Regions from separate parts of the Homo sapiens genome. Here regions 1 and 3 are each linked to region 2. Evidence: promoter capture Hi-C in 16 types of primary human blood cells and fetal thymus (Javierre and others, 2016). All regions are on one chromosome and are shown on one strand. Each heading gives the region's core, a stretch centred on a gene start or on the middle of the fragment in contact. The rest is flanking DNA. Distances are from core to core; before and after follow the strand shown.

Region 1 (3,593 bases), core at 764-3,263, 2.0 Mb before region 2:
ACAAAAAAATTAGCTGGGCATGGTGGCATGCACCTGTATTCCCAGCTACTTGGGAGGTTGAGGTGGGAGGATCGCTTGAGCGGCTTCAGTAAGCTGTGACCGCACCACCGCACTCCAGCCTGGGTGACAAAGCAAGATCCTGTCTAAAAAAAAAGAGGGCTACAGCAACTCTATGCTCTATGTGTCACAATCTCACACATTAACATCCAAGGGTAGAAAAGGAAAACGTTTCCCTGAAGTCCCACCAGCAGGCTTCTCCTCACATCTCCTTGGTGAGAATCGGGCTGTATGTCCTTTCCCAAACTGGCAAAAATAACGTCATTTGCCCTGCTCAGCTTAGCCTAATCAAGATCCATTCCCCTTGGGCTGAAGATAGGATGGCTTTCTTTAAGCATAAGGTCCTACGGAATGGGCAAATACTCTTCCGAAATTAGGGTCTGCCACCGTGGAGGAAACTCAAGGGAATGGATTTGGGGAGGTGACTTACAGTGTCTGCATAAACTTTCTATAAGGAGAGTCTGGCCTAATTAGGAGGGGTTTAAGAAAGAAGTTAAAGATGGCTTTCATTATGTCCATAGACTAGGGTCCTCGATAAGACCACAGTTTGAATTCTTTTTCATGCTTGTACTTTCTCACTCTTATATTTGTTCCTTTTCTCCCCTTGCCTCTTCATAGAGATCTATTGCAATTTTTAGTACCAAGAGCAAATGCTCCTGTTCCTGGGAAATCAGGGGATGCACAAGTAGCGTGTTCTTAAAGCAAATGTGACAGTTACAATAGGGATTCGGCCCCCAGATGGGGTCATCAGAACCCAATGTGACAGCTACAATGCATTCCTGATTCCTCATAATAAGCATAACAGCCTCTGAGAATATCTCAGCACAAACTAGGTTATGAATGATTGATTAATAAGTGGATGAGTGCTGTACAGATCGCCATATGCCAGTTCTGCTGAGAGCCATAATCTCCCATCTAACATTGCCTTATCACTGAGCTCACACAAGGAGGCCTGTTCTTTGTGGAACAAAGTCAGGGATGTTTTCCATGACTCATATTGGAAGCGTCCCACAGAAAAAATGGGATGTTCCATAGTGGGCGGATGAAATCAAAGTTGTTAGAAAGTCTGTTTATAAGTCTTCCTGTCTGTGTGTGTGTGTCTTTCTGAGTGTGTCTCTGTATCTTCCTCTGTTGTATTTCTGTATGTGTTTCTACACGTGTCTGTGTTTGTATATCTCTATGTGATTGCTGTGTGTGTATATGTCTGTGTGTGTGTCTCTGTGTATGTGTCTGTGTGTGCATCTCTTTGTGCCTGTGTGTCTTTTTTTTTTTTTGAGATGGAGTCTAGCTCTGTCGCCCAGGCTGGAGTGCAATGGCGTGATCTTGGCTCACTGCAACATCCACCTCCTGGGTTCAAGCGATTCTTCCGCCTCAGCATCCCGAGTAGCTGGGATTACAGGCGCCCGCCATCATGCCTGGCTAATTTTCGTATTTTTTAGTAGAGAAGGAGTTTCACCATGTTGATCAGGCTGGTCTCAAACTCCTGACCTCAGGTGATCCACCCACCTCGGCCTTCCAAAGTGCTGGGATTATAGGCATGAGCCACCGCGGCCGGCCGTCTGTGTGTCTTATAAAATTTATTTTTATTTTTAGTTTTTGTGAATTATCTAATTTTTTACTTATTCTCTAGAGCCCAGTTGAGCTCTTTTGCAGGTATATAGTAGGTGTGTATATACTTGTGGGGTACATGAGATGTTTTGATACAGGCATGCAATATGAAGTAACCTGTGTGTGTCTTTCTGAATGTATCCCTCTATATCTCTGTTTCCTGTCTCTGGGCATGTGTAAGCCTGTCTCTCTGTGTGTTTTGGCATGTGAGTATATTCCTTTCTATGCAAGTATCTTTCTGTGTGCAGGTTTCTCTATATGCACATGTGTATCCCTGTTTGCATATGTGTGCAGGCACATGTGTGTGTGTTGTGTGTGTGTTTGTGTGTGTGTAGAGTTCAAGCGCAAGTGGAAAAGAGTAACCTGAGAGGAGGAAGCAGCTCCCCTCAACCCCCCCAGGAGATCTAGATAAATTTAAGGCAGGGTAACATCATGTGAAGAGTGCGGAATGGCCGCTAGGCTCCCTGGATGTTCAACCCCATTTTCCCTTTAACTCACTGCATGATTTTCTGTGATTGATTTCAATTCTCTGGGCCTTAGTTCTCTTGGAGATAATACTACTTGCTTAACCTAGCTCACAGGGATTTTCTGAGAATGAAATAGTAATGTAATTTCAAATGCTTTTGAAAAAGTTAAAAGCAGTATAAAAAGGAAGGCATTAAATGGATTAACATTGGACTTGATTCAGGGAAAACCTTTATGTTCAAGATATGCATGGAAAGGGGACTTTGATTCAGCTCAGAATCTTTGGTTGATAGATCATGAAGGTTGAGTCAAATGTGCTCTGGGGGAGGAAGGGAGAAAATCAGCTTCATGCTGAAGAAGGGCTCCTGCTCCAAATCAGCAAAGACAAAGAAGGTTCATTTTGGATGCAAGTTCTGATCCATTAATGGTGGCTACTTAGAATATGATGTGAATAAGGTTTTGAGGGCTGCGTCCTGGCCAGGGTGATAATAATGTCACTTGGGGTACCTGCCATAGACGTCAGGGACTTAGAACATGCAGGCTATGTGCTTACTGTCCCTCCCAGAGCAGGGTGCTGGCTAGACAATATCAGACTTGGAGTCTGAAGACGGGGGCTAATGTCTTAGAAGTTGCCAAAAGTAAAAATCTTTGTAAGTTTTAAAGTCATTTAACTTCTCTTCTCTCATACTACCTTGGTGATCCTCCCTTAGAGGGTTGGACAACAATCCAGTTTAATTGTTGGATTCGTCCATAGATTTGTACAAAGTGGTATAAAGACAGGGTCTTATTTGAATTGGGAAAAAGAGATGATTTAGATTGTCATCATGGATGTAAAGAATCTTCCATGCTCTGCCATCTTAATGTAACCTCTCTCGGGTTGGTATTGTCACAAGTTTTAAAAGAATTCTCTAATTTTTTACTTATTCCTTGGAGTCCAACTGAGCTCTTAAGAAAATTAGAGACCAATGACATCACATAAACACCATAACACTTTTTTTGTACCTTGCCTGTTCAATATTTCTTTTCTTTTCTTTTCTTTTTTTTGAGACAGAGTCTCTCTCTGTTGCCCAGGCTGGAGTGCAGTGGCATGATCTCCACTCATTGCAACCTCCGCCTCTCAGGTTCAAGTAATTCACCTGCCTCAGCCTCCAGAGTAGCTGAGATTACAGGTGTGCACCACCATGCCTGGCTAATTTTTGTAATTTTTAGTAGAGACAGGGTTTCACCATGTTGGCCAGGCTGGTCTCGATCTCCTGACCTCCACCTCAGCCTCCCGAAGTGCTGGGATTACTCAATATTTTCTTACCTTCCAGCCCTTACTTGAAGATTCGGAGGTCTTCCCACAATAGCTTCATGACTCAGCACATGTGCAGCAACTTAATTTTCTTTTCTAATGCTCCTTCAACTAGCCCTTTTGACTTGAGTGCACAAACTCCTTTTCCCTTTATCAGAATAAATAATTG
Region 2 (3,524 bases), core at 69-2,568:
TAATCCACCACCACCATCCCCTCCCCTTCCCCTACCCCATTCTCTGGCTTCTAACCCCCCTCTACTCCCTTCTTCCCGCCCAGGGCACCTACTCACTTACCTGCCAGATGTAGGATGAGGCTTAAGATGACCACTTGAGGATGCATTATGGGATCAGCCTGAAGGAAAATGAGCAGACAGGCTGGTTGGTACCCTCCACCAGATGGTATCTGATCAAGTCTTAAATCTCAGATTGCAACTTATCTTTTCACCCAGTTGGTTGATTCATATGAGCCTGCTCTGCTGGAAATGAGAGAAGACCACATATAACGGCTTCAGAGCTCTGTTAGTTCCCTGCAGCTGAGAGCTCTGTGCCTTCCAAAGGACAGGGAAAGCTGTCCACAGAAACAGCCCCTGACTTCCCAGCTTCTTCCCCACACATAACCGCCAAACTGACTCCTGGTCCTGATACAGGGTATCAGGGGAACAAACAAAAAGGAAACAGGGCCGGGCGCGGTGGCTCAAACCTGTAATCCTAGCACTTTGGGAGGCCAAGGCGGGCAGATCACGAAGTCAGGAGATCGAGACCATCCTGGCTAAAAGGGTGAAACCCCGTCTCTACTAAAAATACAAAAAATTAGCCGGGCGTGGTCACTGGCGCCTGTAGTCCCAGCTACTCGGGAGGCTGAGGCAGGAGAATGGCGTGAACCCGCGGGAGGCGGAGCTTGCGGTGAGCCGAGATCGCGCCACTGCACTCCAGCCTGGGCGACAGAGCAAGACTCCGTCTCAAAAAACAAAACAAAAAAAAAGAAAAGAAAAGGAAACTGGAAGCAGAGAACCAGCGTGGCTCAATGGCAGCACGAGAGCAAATGCCAGCCTTCCAGTGGCAGAGATGCACTTGCTTTTCAGAGTAAACTGGGCCTCTGGTGGACGTGGAGCTTTTCCTACTCAGTGGCCACAACGACTTATCCCTAGCCTTAACAGTCATATTGCCAAGTTTGCCATTAGCAAGAGAAATTGAGAGTGAATGTGAATCACTGTGCCTAACCTTTCATGCTCCTGTACAACATGCTTCAGACTACACCTCCTTACCAAGGGACTTCAAGAGAATGCTTCAGGAAACAGAAGTCTGGAGCAGACTTACGTTCAGATCCAGGCTCTGTCACTCACAATGCTGGGTAACCCTGAGAGTTCCTGAGTTCTCTTCAAACCTCTATTTCCTCAGTTGTAAAATAGCACTAAAAATGCTTCCTCTATCTCCCACCAAGGATTGATATAATAAGCAAAAAGGGCCACGGAAGAACTTGGAAAACTAAACCTACATCATATGCAGTAATAGCACTAGCTGAGGTTTTTGGAGAATACTATATAGCAGGCTCTGTGTCAAGCACCCACATGCGTTAAATCGGGCTGTTGACTTCTGCTGTTAATCATTAAACCATACAAACATGAGTAAGCTTGCCTAGTACTTCATTAACTCCTCTTCTGGTCTAAGAATTCAGTAACTTCCAAGGAGGCAGTGGTGGTCTGTATCTTGCAGCTCATGACAGGGTTCATGGGGAAGTGGATGATCTCAGCATAGTGTTTTGTATGGCAGCGTTTAAAAATTCATTTCTTGACCGGGCATGGTGGCTCGTGCCTGTAACCCCAGCACTTTGGGAGGCCGAGTAGGCCAGTCACCTGAGGTCGGGAGTTCAAGACCAGCCTGGCTAACACGGTGAAACCCCGACTCTACTAAAAATACAAAAATTAGCTGGGGGTGGTGGCGGGCGCCTGTAATCCCAGCTACTTAGGAGGCTGAGGTAGAAGAATTGCTTGAACCTGGAAGGTGGAGGTTGCAGTGAGCCGAGATCAAGCCATTGCACTCTAGCCTGGACAACAAGAACAAAACTCCATCTCAAAAATAAAAATAAAAATTCATTTCTTGCCAGGCACAGTGGCTCACGCCTGTAATCCCAACACTTTGGGAGGCCAAGGCAAGTGGATCACCTGAGGTAAGGAGTTTGAGACCAACCTGGGCAACATAGCAAGACTCCCTCTCTGCAAAAAAAACGAACAAAAAATATAGTCAGGCCTTGTGTACCTGACCGTAGTCCCAGCTACTCAGGAGGCTGAGGCAGGAGGGTTGCTTGAGCCCAGCAGTTGGAGGCTATGATTGTGCCACTGCACACCAGCCGGGGTGACAGAGCAAGACCCTGTTTCTTAAGGAAAAAAAGATTGAAAAAAAAAAGCTAATTCAATTCAACCAGTTATTACTAACATATTGAGCTGATGGGACATGACTCAATATACTAGGGACGTCAAAAATCCAGACTTGTGCAATCGGGCAGGGACATGGGTAAGTAAGCAACTAATGAAATCAGGATAAGTGAGGTAAAGGTAAATATATAATCAGACTACATCATTCCCCCACTTATAACCCTCTCATAACTCTCTCAGAAAAATAATAATAATAATAATAATAATAATTCCTAAATCTTTACTCAAATTACTGAAGCCCTGGTGGTCTGGCCCTGACCTACCCCATAGATTTCTTCTACCACTCTCTCCCCTGCTGACTCAGCCCCAGCTACTAGAGCTTTCTTTCCAACTTGCCTCAACCCTAAGGCCTTTTCCGTGGCTGTGTTCTCCATCTAGCTCCCCAGCCCCACCATTTTCACTTTTTTCCTTTTCATTTTTATCCCGGCTTAAATATGACCTCCCTGGACATTTTTCACAGGTCCTTCAATCTAAAGTAGCCAACCAGTCCCTCTCACTATTATTATCTTGTTTTCCTTAATCCATTTTATCTGTGTGTGCAATATATGTGGTGTCTGTCTCTATTCCCTCCTATAGAGTGCTGCCCGGTAGAATTTTAGTAATGGAGTTATTCTGGTAACGGAGTTATTCTGGAACTGATGAGCCACAGAGAGCCAAGACAGGGATGTGGAGCCAGTGCTCTGAGATGTTACATAACTGTACAATTCCATAGGATTTGAATTTGAATTCCATAGGATCGATTCTGTCTCCAGTAGAATATTGGTTACAGAGTTATTCTGTGTGAGTGTCGTGCACTACAGCAGCCACTAGCCACATATGACTATTGAGCACTTGAAATGTGGCTAAGGCAACCAAGGCATTTTTAATTTTTTTTTTTTCCAAGACAGAGCCTGACTCTGTCACCCAGGCTGGAGTGCAGTGTCACAATCTCAGCTCAGTGCAACCTCCATCTCCTGGGTTTAAGTGATTCTCTTGCCACAGTCTCCTGAGTAGCTGGGACTACAGACACGCGCCACCATGCCTGGCTAATTTTTGTATTTTTAGCAGAGGTGGAGTTTCACCATGTTGGCCAGGCTGGGCTGGAACTCCTGGCCTCAAGTGATACGCTCATCTCAACTTCCAAAAGTGCTGGAATTACAGGTGTGAGCCGCCATGCCTGGCCTAAAAATTTTTATTTAATTTCATTTTAATTAAAATTTCAGATTGCTTGAGCCCAGGAGACAGTCTTCGGGGAGTTGAGATGGCACCACTGCACTCAAGCCTTAGATGACAGAGCTTTCAAAAAA
Region 3 (3,441 bases), core at 24-2,523, 1.9 Mb before region 2:
CTAGGCTGCCTCCCTGTTTATTAAGATACAGAGAAAGAGAGTGGTTTGGTCACATGTAAGTAACTGGCAGGGTCAGCAGTCGAGTCCAGATAAAGGGCAGAGGTGCCCTTCCCCTCTGCTGTGCCATTCTAAGGGGCCCATTCCTGCTCCAAGAGCTTTTGTCCAAGGACTCAGCTTCCTTCTTGTTTCCTACCACTCCTGAGCCCCTGGTTTCTTGTCATCATTTGTAGCTCTTAGCTGAATCACAACCACACTGTTTTTCCCTCCTGGAAGTGCATGCACCTCAAAAGTGGTCATAAGGTGGTTGTGAAGTCATCCCGAAAATGCTCTGGATTTCTCTCCAAGTCCGTGCCTTCTCTAGTGACATCACTATGCACTGTATTACCGTAGAAATCATATTAAAAGAGCCTCCTTGACTTTGCCTTTGCTCCTCCTCTCCAGGCTCATAATTTGCTGTTTCCCCAACACTCTGGCAACACTGAACTACTTTCCTTGAAACTGCCATGTTCTTTCTTACCTTTTAGCCTTTGCAGATGCTGTTCCTTCTTAATAACAAAGAGAGTGCTGCCATTTATTTGGCACATACCCTGCGCCAGTCTCTGTGCCAAGAACTCTTTGTTTATTTAATTTGGCTTTTATCATAGCCCTATGAGGAAGGAATTATTATCCCTACTTAATATATAATGACAATGAGACACAAAGAGAATTAGTAACTTACCCAAGGTCACACAACCAGCTAATGGCAGCGCCAGTGCCAAGATTTGAATCTGCAAAGTCTGACTCAGGGCACACGCCTTGACTCATCTCCCCTGCCTTGTGATCTCCCATTCACATGGCTAATTTTTATATGGTGCCTGTTAGGTCTCAACTTTAATATTGATTCCTCTTGGAAATCTTTTTCGATGCCTCTTGACTAGGTTAGAATTTGGTGTTGCTGTTTCCACAGCATCATCTGTTTCCTCTACTTTGTGGTAATTTTCTCCTTATCTGTGATGTCTACCAGATAGTGAGCAATATGTACATCACAGCTGTAACCTTCACACCCAGCACAATGTTGATCATATAGTGAGTATGCAGTACATAACTGTTGACTGAGTGAATATTTCATCTTTGTTCCCTCTGGTTCTTAATCTCCATACTTAGTCATCACACATTGTAATTCCTATCCCTGAAATACCTTCCCTTTCCTATGCACACCCCCATTTTCTCACCTCTATCTTATTTCTGTCTCATGATCTCTTGTGTGGACAATAAAGTTCTCAAACACTTATTCCCACAAGTGGACAGTTTATTGGGTGATAAAACAACAAGGTTATTTTTGAAATAAGGTTGATCATTTTCAATGGCTATGGCTCAACTACCTGTAAACAATCTTTGGATCTGGAAGTGAAGAATCCTTGCCAGCCTGTTTTAACATCACTGAACGTCTCAAACCATCATTCAGGTAGACAGAAAGTTGGCCATGGATTAAACTGTGGTTTGTTGGTACAAGTTATGGGTTTTAGGCTGGATGCAGCTAAACTTTGATTCCTGAATTTTTCTGTAATTTTATATGGGCTTTGTCAAGTTGGAAGAGTATATACTTTCAGTTGATCAAAGCCAAGCAGCAATATTTTAAAAACTCTTGGTTCAGAGAAGAGTGAAGTATTCATAACCCAACCATATGGAGAAAGTTTAAGCTGCAGAACCTCCTGGAAGTTTCAACACACACTCACCATGACCTTATGCCTACTTAAGCTATAGCTGAAGTTTTTGATGCTGTTTGCATTTTGACCTCAATTCTACCTTCAACTTTACAGACTCAGACTTATTTGGTTCCTAGCTTCTCACACAAGCCTTTCTTTACCCCAGAAGAAACCAGAAATACTTGAGTTCAATTTTGCCATCAAGCATTTTATATACCACACTTAGCTTAAAATAAATTAGATGTACAGAAGAGATATGTAGTCATAGGTGCCTTCAAACATATTTCAAGGTAATACCACACATGTTTATATGCAATTGTACTTTCACAATGCCAACAGCATAAACAAAATCTTTTCGGGAAGGGACTTTTGAAACACCCTGGCAGTGATTCTCCCAACCAGTGACCCTGGCTCTAAGCTCTTTCTCTTCAATTCCATTCTCCTTGCTGCCACCTTAAACAAAACTCTGGCCATGTCTCTCCTTTGCCTAAGAACCTGAGCTTTTAAGACCTTCAACAAATTGAGCCAAATAACTGTTTGGCTTTTCCCTGCCCTATAGTCATCATTCATCATGCTGGGCTGCCCACCCTGAACAGGTCACCTAATCTTCTGCCATTCTTCCTTAGCTGTTTCTTTTGTGTCTCCCTGGAGGATTTTCTCCCCATATGTGACCTATTTTGTTTTTCCATCCTTCTCAACCTTATGGAAAAGGCCCCACCTCTACAACATTTTCCTAGATCTTCTTAGTCAGGGAAAATCTCTCCCTTGTATTTCTGAAACAGGAGAGTCCTCTGAGTCCCCTCGCAGGACATGCAACAGTGGTGTGGCTTGTCTGTTTGGTTGCTGCCGCTGCTCAAACCCCTTATGGGAGGGGGAGCACGCAGATGGACAGGTGCAGGAACCCTTTCTTGCAAAGGCAGAGGGCCAGTATGACAGCTTTCTGTATCCCGAGCTCTTGTCCAGTGTCTTGGAAGAATCAGGTGACACATGGACTTGATGATGAATGAGGGGTTTTATTGGGTGGTGGAGGTGGCTCTCAGTGGGATGGATGGGGAGGTGGACAAGGGATGGAGTAGAAAGATGATCTTCCTCTGGAATTTGGCTATCCAGCTGCTGATTCTCTGACCGTCCCCAGCTGAACTCCTCCCAACGTTCACTTTCTGTTTTCTCCTCTGCCACGCCGTTCTGCCGCCCATCTCCTCATCTGTTCCTCTCCTGCTTCTGGAGCCTGGGGTTCAGGGTTTATATGGGTACAGGATAGGTGGGAGTGGCAGGCCAAAAGGCAACTTTTTGGGTGCCAAAACAGGAGTGCCCATTCTCACTTAGGGCTGTGAGTATCCAGGCTTGAGGGTGGGACCTTTTCCAGGGAACTGCCCACTTCTACCCAGTATTTCCTTGTCTCCTGTCTGTATCATTTCCAGATTTATGTCCTTATTTTATCTTAATTTCTCATCTCTCCCCTGTATTTCCAGATATGTTTGTGTGTATATTTTATCTTAATTTTTTTATTAAGTACTTCTTTATTTATTAAAAAAATCCAAAGCTTTAAAAAAATAAGGAAAATGGAAAATGACCCACAATTTCTTCATCCTGTTAATATTTCTTGACCTAAAAAGTAATGCATATGTTTTGTTGGAAAATTCTGATAGTACAGAAAGGAACCAAAGCAAAAAGTAAAGCTTCCTTGCCCTTTCCTTCATATCTTTAACTTTAGCATTTAATAGTCTGCTGTGTTTTATGTGACTGTTTACCTTCT

Evidence for each region. The method cuts DNA at HindIII sites, captures the fragments that hold promoters and counts their contacts. A CHiCAGO score of 5 or more calls a contact.
Region 1: a fragment that was not itself captured here is called in contact with the fragment with the promoter of HAVCR1 in region 2 in 1 of 17 cell types (naive B cells); the score reaches 5.3 in naive B cells.
Region 3: a contact is called between a fragment that was not itself captured here and the fragment with the promoter of HAVCR1 in region 2, in 2 of 17 cell types (M2 macrophages and M0 macrophages). The highest score is 8.4, in M2 macrophages.

What each region holds. Positions count from the first base shown.
Region 1 is chr5:155,102,386-155,105,978 of GRCh38, forward strand. No RefSeq gene overlaps it. Among named protein-coding and RNA genes, the nearest start is that of KIF4B, 90 kb to the left of the region's middle. The HindIII fragment of the contact is 4,206 bases long and covers 1-3,593 here.
Region 2 is chr5:157,057,798-157,061,321 of GRCh38, forward strand. HAVCR1 (hepatitis A virus cellular receptor 1) reads right to left here and starts at 1,319. Exons shown (of 9, transcript NM_001173393.3): 1 at 1,124-1,319; 2 at 101-158. The coding sequence starts at 146. The HindIII fragment of the contact is 9,361 bases long and covers 1-1,434 here.
Region 3 is chr5:155,128,610-155,132,050 of GRCh38, forward strand. No RefSeq gene overlaps it. Among named protein-coding and RNA genes, the nearest start is that of KIF4B, 120 kb to the left of the region's middle. The HindIII fragment of the contact is 3,905 bases long and covers 1-3,226 here.